Linked DNA regions of Homo sapiens: region 1 is linked to region 2. The links are contacts of gene promoters, found by promoter capture Hi-C in blood cells and fetal thymus (Javierre and others, 2016). All regions are on one chromosome and are shown on one strand. The core of a region is centred on a gene start or on the middle of the fragment in contact, and the rest is flanking DNA. Distances in the headings are between cores, read along the strand shown.

Evidence for each region. The method cuts DNA at HindIII sites, captures the fragments that hold promoters and counts their contacts. A CHiCAGO score of 5 or more calls a contact.
Region 1: a contact is called between the fragment with the promoter of ZNF598 here and the fragment with the promoter of ECI1 in region 2, in 2 of 17 cell types (erythroblasts and endothelial precursors). The highest score is 7.7, in erythroblasts.

What each region holds. Positions count from the first base shown.
Region 1 is chr16:2,005,552-2,012,116 of GRCh38, reverse strand. ZNF598 (zinc finger protein 598, E3 ubiquitin ligase) reads left to right here and starts at 2,296. Exons shown (of 14, transcript NM_178167.5): 1 at 2,296-2,379; 2 at 2,381-2,492; 3 at 2,494-2,593. The coding sequence starts at 2,370. LOC124903626 (a long non-coding RNA gene) reads right to left here and starts at 2,232. Exons shown (of 2, transcript XR_007064941.1): 1 at 2,015-2,232; 2 at 1,529-1,809. RefSeq lists silencers at 1-87, 2,178-2,397, 2,488-2,917, 2,928-2,997, 6,215-6,509 and enhancers at 1,938-2,097, 1,622-2,570, 4,470-5,417. The HindIII fragment of the contact is 28,758 bases long and covers 1-6,565 here.
Region 2 is chr16:2,246,448-2,252,841 of GRCh38, reverse strand. It overlaps ECI1 (enoyl-CoA delta isomerase 1), which reads left to right and starts at 1,255. Exons shown (of 7, transcript NM_001919.4): 1 at 1,255-1,327; 2 at 1,413-1,526; 3 at 5,856-5,983. The coding sequence starts at 1,276. It overlaps LOC107984839 (a long non-coding RNA gene), which reads right to left and starts at 1,172. Exons shown (of 2, transcript XR_001752052.2): 1 at 849-1,172. RefSeq lists enhancers at 804-863, 1,794-1,923 and a silencer at 1,114-1,583. The HindIII fragment of the contact is 15,979 bases long and covers 1-6,394 here.

The DNA.
Region 1 (6,565 bases), core at 1,047-3,546, 240 kb after region 2:
CAAATAGGAATGCAGTGATACTGACACCCTGATTTTAGCTCAGTGTGACCCACGTTAGAGTCTGGACTCCAGAACTAAAGATAATACATTTGTGTGTTTTAAGCCAAGTTTGTGGCCTTTTTTTTTTTTTTTTTTTTTGAGATGGAGTCTCACTCTGTTGCCCATGCTGGAATGCAGTGGCGCAATCTTGGCTCACTGCAAGCTCCACCTCCCGGGTTCACACCATTCTCCTACCTCAGCCTCCGGAGTAGGTGGGACTACAGGCGCCCGCCACCACACCAGGCTAATTTCTTTTTGTATTTTTAGTAGACATGGGGTTTCACCGCGTTAGTCATGATGGTCTTGATCTCCTGACCTCGTGATCCACCTGCCTCAGCCTCACAAAGTGCCAATTTCAAGCTGGGATTACAGGTGTGAGCCACCGCGCCCAGCCAAGATGTTGAACTTCTTACATCCTTACAATAACTTTTCCCAGTTTTCTTTTTTTTTTTTTGAGATGGAGTCTCACTCTGTGGCCCAGGTTGGAGTGCAGGGGCGCAATCTCTGCTCATTGAAACCTCTGCCTCCTGGGATCAAGCGTTTCTCGTGCCTCAGCCTCCCGAGAAGCTGTGACTACAGGCGCATGTCACCACGCCCCGTTAATTTTTGTGTGTTTTGGCCAGGCACAGTGGCTCATGCCTGTAATCCCAGCACTTTGGGAGGCCAAGGCAGGTGGATCAAGAGGTCAGGAGATCGAGACCATCCTGGCGAACATGGTGAAATCCTGTCTCTACTAAAAATAAAAAAAAAAAATTAGCAGGGCGTGGTGGCGGGTGCCTGTAGTCCCAGCTACTCAGGAGGCTGAGGCAGGAGAATGGCGTGAACCCGGGAGGCGGAGCTTGCAGTGAGCCGAGATCACGCCACTGCACTCTAGTCGTGTGTGTTTTTTTTTTTTTTTTTGAGATGGAGTCTCGCTCTGTTGCCAAGGCTGGAGTGCAGTGGCGTGATTGTCGTGATCTCGGCTCACTGCAACCTCTGCCTCACGGTTTCAAGAGATTCTACTGCCTCAGGCTGCCGAGTAGCTGGGACTACAGGCACATGTCACCACGCCCGGCTAATTTTTGTATTTTTAGTAGAGATGGGGTTTCACCATTTTGGTCAGGCTTGTCTCCAATTCCTGACCTCAGGTGATCCCAACCTCCCAAAGTGCTGGGATTACAGGCGTGAGCCACCACGCCCGGCCTAAAAATTTTTTTTGTGGAGATGGAGCCTGACTGTGTAGGCCAGGCTGGTCTCAAATTCCCAGGCTCCAGCAATCCGGGCCACCCAGCCTCCCAAACTGCTGGGATTACAGGCTTGAGCCACTGTGCCTGACAGCTTTTTTCAAGTGGCAAAATTGGGGTTTCAAGCCCATTTGTGTCTGTTTCTAAAGTCCAAGTTCACTGGGCATGGATCACTTGAGCCCAGGAGGTTGAGGCCTCAGTGTGCTGTGATCGTACCACTGTGTTACAGCAAGAGCAAGACCCGGTCTCAAATAAAGTAAGTAAAGTTCAGGCTCATTGATACAATTTACTGCCTCTTTTCCAGTAGGGTTTAGATCTGGACCTGCCTTCTGGATGGCAGAGGGAGGGAGGTCCTGAGTGTGCCTGGCCCTCAAGGGTAGGGAGGAGGCCCTGTTACTGCAGCATCCATCCAAACACGTCCTGTGCTGGGCCCAGCGTAAAGAGGACAGGTTCCGTTCGTGCCTTCCAGAGGCCCCTTCTGGGCAGGCCTGGCGAGACTGCCCTGGGCTGCGAGATGGACGTCACCACGTGCTGCCTTTCACGTTGTCTTTCATGTAGGGATTTAAACAGGGCATTAGGGAAGTGGAGGCGGGACCACGCTTGTGTGTGTTCCAAATACCAGAGACCGGTTTCCTAATAAGGTGGCCAGATTTAGCAAATACAAATACGGCAGGTCCACTTAAATGTCAATTTCAGATAAGGAGCAGCATTTTAGTATGAGCCTAGCCCATCAATATTTGGGCTATACTTACACTAAGACATGACCCCTTGTTCATCTGAGATGCAAACCAGTTGTGCCGTGTTTCATCTGACAACGCCAGTTCGTGGAGCCCGGCGAGTGTTGACGTGACACGCGTGGCCCAGAGGAGCCCGGGGCTGGCCGCGTGGCCGCGCGGACCTTCGAGCGGTCGGCTCATGGTAGAGCGGCCTCTATCAGGGCCACCGCTCTAGCCGGCGCCGCGCTGAGGCGGAAGTCGCGACGCGCACTTGCGCCGGGCGGGCCCGTTGCTGGGTGGGGCGGTGACGTTTGCCCGGAAGGGGCGGGCCCGCCGGGAGCCAGGCCGCTCGGCGCCACGACCGGCCGAGAGGGGGGCCGGATCCCGGACCATGGCGGCGGCCGGGGGGCGCCGAGGGGCGGCGCGCGGACATGGAGGCGGAGGCGGCGGCAGCTCCTGAGCGGGGAGGCGGGAGCTGCGTGCTGTGCTGCGGAGACCTGGAGGCCACGGCGCTGGGGCCGCTGCGACCACCCGGTGTGCTACCGCTGCTCTACCAAGATGCGGGTGCTCTGCGAGCAGCGCTACTGCGCCGTGTGCCGCGAGGAGCTGCGCCAGGTGCGGGGCGCCGGGGGCGCGGCCCGGGGGCAGCGGGGCTCCCGGCGACCGGATGGGGACTTTGCCTCACTGAGGTCCGGCCGTGGGCCCGGCGGCGCCGGCTTCCGAGAGAGGCCTGGTGGGGCCACCCAGGGCGGGGTCCCGGCCGTGCGGCTGACGGCGGGGCGTTGGGGCTTGGAGGCCGGAGGCGGCCGAGCGGGTTGCAGGAGGGGGCAAGCCCTGTGGGGACAGCCTGGGGACTTCCCCCGTGTCCCGGGGGTTCCTGCCGGGCCTCAGGAAGGGTCCTGATCAGATGGAGAACTCGGTGACCTGCTCGTCTTCAGGAGTTTATTTTCCAGGGTCCTCCATTCGAGGAAACAAGGCAAGGGGGACTCTGCGGAGGCCATCCGTCCTGGAAGCAGGGCGTCAAACTCTGGGCATTCTCAGCCCAGCTGTGTTTCTGGGCCCCCATTGGATGACCCTGAGCAAACTCCTTCCGAGACTGACGTTTTCCTCTGTGGAGTGGAGGTGACACTAGCCTCGGAAGGAGACCTGCCCGTCGGAGGGGAAGGCCCCCTCGCGCTTCTTGGCGGGAAGGGAGAAAAGTGTTAGGAAGTTGTCCTCCTCCTCGCCGCCGCCCCCCGCCTTTGGCGCTCATCTCCGCAGTGAATGGGAGACGTTTTTGACTGTACAGACTTGGAAGCCGTGGAGGGGTCAGAGGGTACCATGCAGCGTTCCTCCACCCTCACTGCACTGCCAGCTGCTGGCTGTGGGCACCTGGCTGGAGCCCGTTGGTTTGCTGAGCTTAGAGATTTGTTTGCTTCCAGCATTGTGAAATTCCCCCGGTTTGTTCATAGAAGGCTTCGGCTGGTGACATCTGCCAGGAATCTAACTTTCTTCTCCCCAGAAGTGATGCAGAGCAGTATTGAGGTGTAGGTTCTTTCTTTTTTTCCTTTTCTTTCTTTAAGTAGACGTTTACATCAAAGGAGTTGAAGAGATGCTGCAATTCTCTGAGCAATTTGTGGGCTTATAGTCTGTGCCCTTTTTGGAAAAAGACATTTGGAGATTCTATCAGTCTGTCATGTGACAGGAGGAGGCCGACCCAGACCCCGGGGAGATCTGGGGTGCAGGAACAGTCACAGAGGACCTTGGCCCGTGGCTTCCTCAGGGCGCTTCCTGGCTTTGCCAGGGCCTGCCTTGCCAGCCAGTCCTGCATAGCATGACCTCACTCTCCAACAGCTAGGTTTCCCAGCACACCTGTAGCTTCCTTCCGGAAAGAAGACGCTAAGGAGTTCTTGGCACGTGAGGTCCCGACCCAGGCTGCAGGTCTGATGCAAGACATGAGTGAACATCTGCGTATGCTTACTGTGGCAGCCTCTGCCCGCTCTCATTCCTTGTAGGCCCCACGCCCTCCAGGAGCTCTGTGGCTGGGGGCTGCGGACATGAGCTGTCAGCCGGGGTGTGGTTTGGCACTGGGTGCCCCCAGCCGGCTTCCTCTAGGGCCTACCCCGCCTTACTGGGCTGAAGGAGGGGCTCCTGGAAAGTTTGCTGTTTGCTGGTCTCCTCTCCTTTGCATTCGTTCTATTTTCTTCCCATCTTGAGCTTGCCGCCTCACTCTAGTCTCCTTTTTCCTTACTGAGTTCAGCACCATCCCCTGAATATATTCTGTGTCCCATGCGTGCTCAGGAATTCCCACTGCAACCCTCAACTCCTGAACCCTGGCGTTGCCTTGGCCTCCCTTATGGGACTAAGGTTTTGCGAAAATTGTGAGGAAAGTGTCCAGGATGCCGTGTGGAATCGGCTGGCTCCATGTGCTTGTTAGTTCCACACACCTGGACCCAGGCCTTCCCTGTGGAGGCTGCAGCTGCTGCTCAGGCCAGGAGCCAGATGGGCCTGACCCCTGGCAGGTGCTCAGGGTGGAAGCCGAGGCAGGCTCCCCTCCGTGGGAGGTGGGGGCGCTGGTCTTGGCCATGGCTGACAGAGGTCCTGGGGTGGTGGAGCCCCACGTTCTGGGCCTCTTTCCTGGCTGCGTCTTTCTCAAGGGCCGGTTCCTGCTGTTTGCATCTTGCTCTCCAGCTTGCTCTGGTCCCTGGTGTTACTGCAGGAGTCCTGATGAGGCTGCAAGCCCCCCAGGGCAGCCCACCTGCACCTTACAGGCAGGCAGTGGGAGGGGGCGCAGAGGGCCAGCCCACAGTTACCCAAGGTCCCAGGTCAGGAGGGTGACATGCTGGCTTGGGTCATGCTTTCCTACTCCTACTGCTCCCCCTCCGCCCTGCTCCCGTCCCCCGTGGCCCTGGCCCTATCTGTAAAATGCTCCCTGCTTCTGCTGTCCCCCCACCCCGCTCCCGTCCCCCATGGCCCTGGCCCTCTGTAAGATGCTCCCTGCTGCTGCTGTCCCCATCTGGGCTCCTTGGAGGTCTAGACTCTCTAGATGGCCCTGGGAGCCAACCCCAGGGTCCCCCTCCCCACGTGTGGGCAGGCCCTCACCGCTGTCCTTTTGTGTGCCCATGACATGCTGGGGAGTGTAGAGCAGCAAGGCCCCAGGCAGACACCACACCTGTCCCTGTGGGGGGTCTTGGGGGCCTCCTGTTCCTAAGCAGGCCTCACCCCATTTGCCTCTTGCTCTCCTTGGGGCCTAGCTTGGCCGTCTCCAGGGCTCACGTAGAGTGCCCTTCCCCTCATCATTTGCTGCATAGCCCATCCCCAAGCCTCTCCCCATGGGTTCTGTACTTCTGTCCTCAGACACGTGACCCTCTCCTGCTGGGGCGACCTAGACCTGTTGTCTCCCTCTGTAGCCCCAGCCATCTCCCCCCTGCCCCCACGTCCCAACCCAGCCATTTCCCTCCAGCCACCAAGTCCCACCCCAGGCATCTCCCCCAGGCCCCCAAGTCCCCTACCCATAGCCATCTTCCCCTGGCCTCCATGTCCCCTACGTCCCCTACTCCCAGCCTGGCTGTGCTGGAACCATCAGGCGGGGGAGGGTCTTGCTGTTTGGCTCCTTAGTGGACCGTGCCTGACTCCACCCTGGCCACTGTGCTGCGGGGCGCAGCCTTGTCCAGCCCCCTCCTCACCCTCAGGGAGGGCGATGCTGGCCATGCCAGGCTGCACTGCTGTCCCACTGCCCGCTCCTGAGGTCTGGGCAGCCAGTCCTGGTCTCCCTGCCTGTCTGAGGATGGGCAGCCTCAGGCCCCCACTATCAGGTGGTATTTCTCACTCCGGCCCCAAACCTGCACGCCCTCCTGCTCCAGTGATTGTGGCCTTGGGCCCACCTTGCTCACAGCCATTGTTCTTTCACAAGCCTCTTCCTGTTCCTGAGCCCACCCAGTGTCTCCTTTCCCCTGTCTCGTTGCTCCGCTTAGGTGCCCTGCCTAGGTGACCCCTCCCAGCTGTTCAGGAGGGACGAATACTCTGGGTCTTGCTACCCCTGGTGCTCGGAGTACCTGCCTTAGCTGCTGTGCAGATGGATGCCCATCTAGACTCCATATGGGGCATGTAGCCCTCCCGTGCTGGCCCACCCTGGGTCCTTCATCTGGGTGCTGTCAGTGCACCTGGGATCCGCCCGGCCTGGCCCTGCCTCTGCCCAGCTCCCCGCAGCTCCTCCACCCCCAGCTGCTCCCTGGCCTCAGAGAGGCTGCCTTGACCGAGTCCGCCAGCCCCACCAGTGCCGTCCCACATAGGTTTCTTGGGACTTGCGATGTGCTAGCATCGCATGGAGCATGGGTGCCCCCAGGCGGCAAGGACAGAGGAGTGTATGTGCTCCTCAGCGGGGCCTGGCCCTGTGCCCGCACACGGGTGGCACTCGGGGGACGCACCAGTGGAGGTTGGCTGCGTGTTAGGGGTGCCTGGGATGCCCCTGTGCCCGCAGTCTGAGTCGCCGCCACCCACGGTGGATGAGGGCGTGCGGCTGAAAGGAGGGGTGCCAAAGTGGGGAGGTGGGGCTGGGGACGCCCCTGGCACGGGTTTCCTCTGGGGAAGGAAGTCGTTTCTCCTCGG
Region 2 (6,394 bases), core at 6-2,505:
CTTCAGTGTCCAGAGTAGCAGGGGCTAATTTTTTTTTAATTTTTTAATTTTTTTTTTGAGACAGTCTCTGTTGCCTGGGTTGGAGTGCAGTGGCGCAATATTGGCTCACTACAACCTCTGCCTCCTGGGTTCAAGTGATTTTCCTGCCTCAGCCTCCTGAGTAGCTGGAATTACAGGCACCTGCCACCATGCCCAGCTAATTTTTTGTATTTCTAGTAGAGACGGCGTTTCATCATATTGGCCCGGCTGGTCTCAAACTCCTGACCTCATGATTTGCCCACCTTGGCCCCCAAAGTGCTGGGATTACAGGCATGAGCCACCGCGCCCAGCAGCAGGAGCTAATTTTTAAGAATTTTTTGTAGCAACAAGTTGTTGCTATGTTACCCAGCTGGTCCTGAGTCACTGGGGTTACAGGTGTGTGTCACCATGCCAGGCTTGCTTCCTCCTCCGTTAAGTGGCCATTTTTCCACCTCAAAAATTGGTTTGGGACACAAGGAAGAATTGGAAATGCTTAAGATGAGAACAAAAGTTGAGACCACCCAACACAGCTGGGACCTTACTGCCCAGTGCTCCCAGTGGTCTGACCAAAACCCCACACCAGACAGTACAAAGGCCCACTCCCGAGCTGCCGCTTACGGCCCAGCGGGAACAGACTGTATTCTTATCTTTCGGCATTTCTCTGCAAATAAAAAGGTGCCACTGCGGTCCGGCCTTTGTGCACTTGCCCTTGTGCTGAGCAAGGCGGGTGGCCTGTTCTTACCGCTGGGTTCTGCTGCCCCCACCCCCATTTCGGTGACTAAACCTGCAGCTCTGATCCTGTTCCCAAAGGGGCAGGAGGCCGGGCTCACCCCAGGCAGCCCCTGGCCTCCCTGACGGCCCCCTCGGGAGGGGTTCCGTGCTTTGATCGCCTTTCCAGCGCCGATACTGCAGTAGCTGGGCCCGGCCGAGAGCTCGCGGTCACGAACACCGGCAGCCTCTTGCCTACAGTGTCCCGCGCTGTAGAAGAGCCTGCCCTGGCGCTGAGCTGGTCGTGGCTGCTTCAGCAGTGGGCCTGCGCCTCCTTGTAGGCCAGCCCTGGCCCAGATCCAGGTGCCTGCCCCGGAAGCGCGCGGCTGCCCGGGGTGAAGCCGGAGGGCGGCGAGCGGCTGTTTCGGCCGGTAGGTGGAGGCGTTGACCAGCCTCTGGGAACGGGGCGGGACCTAGTTGGGGGGGCTCCGCCCCCTCCCCAGGAGGCGAGCTCAGCCCGCGACCTTTATCCCGCGCGTTGCGGTCAAGATGGCGCTGGTGGCTTCTGTGCGAGTCCCGGCGCGCGTTCTGCTCCGCGCGGGTGCGAAACCCGGGGTGGGCAGGGATCGGGCCGGGGCCGGGGCCAGGACCGGGAACTAACGGGCTCCCCCACGCTGCCTTCGCAGGGGCCCGGCTCCCGGGCGCGGCCCTCGGGCGGACGGAGCGGGCGGCCGGCGGCGGAGACGGCGCGCGGCGCTTCGGGAGCCAGCGGGTGCTGGTGGAGCCGGACGCGGGCGCAGGTGAGCGGGCGGCGCCGAGGGAGGGCGGGCGTGGGGTCAGGACCCGCGGGGGTCCGCGCTCGCGGGGTGCTGTCGGAGAACCACGTCTGTCGACGCTCGGTTTGTGTTTAGAACCCAAGTTTCGAAACAGAACCTTGCCGCTCTACCTGGGTTCGTTCGTCATGAGATAAAAGTTTCTGTTTTTAAAGTTGGCGGAGGCCGGGCGCGGTGGCTCACGCCTGTAATCCTAGCACTTTAAGAGGCAGAGGCGGGCGGATCACCTGAGGTCAGGAGTTCGAGATCAGCCTGGCCAACATGATGAAACCCTATCTGTACTGAAAAATACAAAAGAAAAAAATTAGCTGGGCGTGGTGGTGCGTGCCTATGCCTGGGAGGCTGAGGCAGAAGAATCGCTGGAATCTGGGAGGTGGAGGCTGCAGTGAGCCGAGATTGTGCCACTGCACTCCAGCTTGGGCCACAGAGCAAGATTCCGTCTCAAAATAAATAAATAAATAAAAATAAAGTTGGCGGGGATATGAGCTGTTATCTAAGTTATTCAATTGGAAGTGGAAAAGAATTGGAATCTTTTGGAATAAAATTACGTTTGTTAACACTCCCATGTGGCACAGAACCTCGTACCTACCCGCCCGTCAGAACCCTTGGTAAAACCCACTGGAAAGGATAGAAAAAGTACTTTTGGAAGAGAAGCCTGTGCGCTCCCTCCAGACAGGAGGCCGAGCTGAGGGCACCGAGAGGGCACGCCTAGGCGCCAGCAGTTCTGCTTCCAGGACATGCTGACCTGGACCTCCCGGTGCAGCAGTCCCTGCTGTGGCTCCTGAGAGGAGGCCCTCCCCCTCCGCAAGTAAGTCACAGCCCCTGCCCTCCCCAACCCCCCAGACTCAGGGCTGTGCCCAACTTTGCACAGCTTCAGGACTCCAGGCTCCTGGTGCCTCTGAACTTGGTTCCGTCCTCTCTGTCTGGGCTGAGGGAGCTGCCTGGGCTCTCTCTACAAACTTGAGAGGGACAAACTAAGACCAACTTCAAACTGACTTTTTTTTTTTTTTTTTTTTTTTTTGGAGATGTAGTCTTGCTCTCCAGTCGCCAGACTGGAGTGCAGTGGCGCAATCTCCGATCACTGCAACCTGTGCCTCCTGGGTTCAAGCGATTCTCCCTCCTCAGCCTCCCAAATAGCTGGGATTACAGGGACCCACCACTATGCCCACTAATTTTTGTAAAAACTGAGTTTCTGAAGGGATCATTTCTGTAGCATATTTGAATATATCTCAACAAAATGCAAAAAAAAAAATTATTATTTTTTTTTTTTTGAGACAGAGGCTCCCTCTGTCACCCAGGCTGGCGTGCAATGGCGCGGTTCCGGCTCACTGCAATCTCAGTCAGGCCTGACTTTCTGACTCCAAACTCTACTTTGTCTTTTTTTTTTTTTTTTTTTTTTTTTTTTTGAGACGGAGTCTTGCTCTGTCGCCAGGCTGGAGTGCAGTGGCACGATCTCCGCTCACTGCAAGCTCCGCCTCCCGGGTTCACACCATTCTTCTACCTCAGCCGCCCAAGTAGCTGGGACTACAGGCGCCCGCCACCACGCCCGGCTAATTTTTTTTTTTTGGTATTTTTAGTGGAGACGGGGTTTCACCATGTTAGCCAGGATGGTCTTGATCTCCTGACCTCGTGATCCACCCGCCTCGGCCTCCCAAAGTGCTGGGATTACAGGCGTGAGCCACCGCGCCCGGCTTACGTTGTCTTTTTATATGGTAAAGTGGGGAGGCACTCGAGTAAAAAAATTGTCATTGTACGAACACTTTTCCTTTTTTACCGGAGGTAATGTGTGTGTGTGTGTACATAAAAATCTTTAAAATATGCCTCACATTTACCATTCTAGCCATTTTGCAATGTACAACCCCGTGGCCGTAAGTATATTCACAATGTGTAGTCCACACTACCCATTCCAATACCTTAAGATAACATGTTTTTGAGTCCGGGCCCGGTGGCTCCCACCTGTAATCCCAGCACTTTGGGAGGCCAGGGTGCGCGGATCACGAGGTCAGGAGATTGAGACCATTCTGGCTAACACGGTGAAACCCCATCTCTACTAAAAAATACAAAAAAAAATTAGCCGGGCGTGGTGGCGGGCACCTGTAGTCCCAGCTACTTGGGAGGCTGAGGCAGGAGAATGGTGTGAACCCCGGAGGTGGAGCTTGCAGTAAGCCGAGATCGCGCCACTGCACTCCAGCCTGGGCAACAGAGCAAGAATCTGTCTCAAAAATAAATTAATTAATTAAATAAAATAAATAAATAAATAAATAGGAATGACAACCACATGGATGAACCTTGAACACATGATACTAAGTGGACAAAGCCGACAACAAAGCCCGGCGGTATCCCAGTGATATGGAATATGGCTGGAGCAGGAAAACCGCAGACACAGAACGCAGACTGGCGGCTTCCAGGGGCTAGGGGTGGGATGAGGAGCAACTGCTCATGGGGACAGGGATTCCTTTTGGGACAATGAAAAGGTTCTGGAACTAGGCAGCGGCGATAGTTGCACAACACAGTCAGTATACTGAATTGTGTAAGTGCCTGACTTGTTTACTTAAAAATGGCTAATTTAGGCTGGGCACAGTGGCTCATACCTATAATCACATCACTTTGGGAGGCCGAGGCAGGAGGATCACCTGAGGTCAGAAGTTCATGACCAGCCTGGCCAACCTGGTGAAACCCCGTCTCTACTAAAAATGCAAAAATTAGCCAGGCATGGTGGTGTGTCCTGTAATCCCAGCTTCTCAGGAGGCTGAGGCAGAAGAATGGCTTGAACCCAGGAGGCAGAGGTTGCAGTGAGCCGAGATAGCGCTGCTGCACTCCAGCCTGGGCAACAGAGCGAGGCTCTTGTCTCAAAAAAAAAATAAAGATAGAAAATGGTTAATTTGGCCGGGCATGGTGGCTCACACCTGTAATCCCAGCACTTTGGGAGGCCGAGGCGAGGTGTTCACGAAGTCAAGAGATCGAGACCATCCTGGCCAACCAACATGGTGAAACCCCATCTCTACTAAAAATACAAAAATTAGCTGGGCATAGTGGCGCATACCTGTAGTCCCAGCTACTCAGGAGGCTGAGGCAGGAGAATCGCTTGAACCCGGGAGGTGGACGTTGTAGTGAGCTGAGATCGCGCCACTGCACTCCAGCCTGGGCGACGAGCGAGACTCTGTCTCAGAAAAAAATGATAGAGAGAGAAAGAGAGAATGGTTGATTTAAAAAGCATGCAGTTTATATAGAATAAATAAAATTGTTAATTTATGTTATATCGATCTTACTTCAATGTAAAAAACCAAGGGCTCACTCCTGTAATCTAGCACTTTGGGAGCCTGAGGCAGAAGGACCACTTAAGCTCAGGAGTTCAAGACCAGCCTGGGCAACAAAATAAGACCTCGTCTGTACTAAAAAATAAAAAAGATTAACTGGGTGTGGTGGCGCTTGCCTATAATCCCAGCTACTCAGCAGGCTGAGTTGGGAGGATCGCTGGAGCCCAGGAGGTCAAAGCTGCAGTAACCAGAGATCACACCCCTGCACTCCTAGGTGATAGAGTGAGACCCTGTCTCAAAAATAATAATAATAAAAAAATAACCCCCAGGCCGGGCGCTGTGGCTTACGCCTGTAATCCTGGCACTTTGGGAGGCCGAGGCGAGCGGATCACCTGAGGTTGGGAGTTCAAGACCAGCCTGACCAGCATGGAGAAAACCCCGTCCCTACTAAAAATACAAAATTAGCTGGATGTAGCGGCACGCACCTGTAATCCTAGCTACTCGGGAGGCTGAGGCAGTCGAATCGCTTGAACCCAAGAGGCAGAGGTTGCGGTGAGCCAAGATCGCTCCATTGCACTTGAACCTGGGCAACAAGAGCAAAACTCCGTCTCAAAAAAGTAAATAAAAATAGGACCAGGCGCGGGGGCTCACGCCTGTAATCCCAGCACTTTGGGAGGCCGACGTGGGCAGATCGCGAGGTCAAGAGATCGAGCCCATCCTGGCTAACACGGTGAAACCCTGTCTCTACTTAAAAGAAAAAAATTATCCGGGCGTGGTGGTGGGCACCTGTAGTCCCAGCTACTCAGGAGGCTGAGGCAGGAGAATGGTGTGAACCCGGAAGGCAGAGCTTGCAGTGAGCTGAGATCGCGCCACTGCACTCCAGCCTGGGTGACAGAGCGAGACTCTGTCTCTAAATAAATAAATTAATAAATAAAACCCCCAAAATGCACAGCTATCATGGCTTAGTTGAGGGTGCAGGCTGGTCAGGCTGCTTTTCCAGTGCCAGGTGTGAGCTTTCTCTTCTCATTCTTTAAATTAGGGGTCGCTGTGATGAAATTCAAGAACCCCCCAGTGAACAGCCTGAGCCTGGAGTTTCTGACGGAGCTGGTCATCAGCCTGGAGAAGCTGGAGAATGACAAGAGCTTCCGCGGTGTCATTCTGACCTCGGTAGGTGCTAGTTCAGCTCCCTACCCCAGCCCGAGTTCTTGGCCTGAGTTCTCTGATGTGAGCCCAGGCCTGTTGCACATGGAAGAGGCAGAGCCTGCCAACGTGTGGCACAGGCCAGCCGGCAGCCCCACCACCCTGGACTCCAGGCGCCTTCACGGGAGGCTTCCAGGAGCACCGTCTGGGTGTGCCCCAGCAGGGACCCAAACTGCCATGGGCCTCAAGCAGATCATTCCCAAAGGTGAAGGTGGACCAGTCTCAGAGACAGCCTTCCCAGGAGACAGCTTTCCCAAGAGACGCCCTTCCCGGGAGACAGCCTTCCCAAGAGGCAGCCCTCCTGGGAGACCGCCTTCCTGGGAGACAGCCTTCCCTGCCCGGGCCGTCGTCCAGGCGGACACTGGGGAGAGCTGTGGG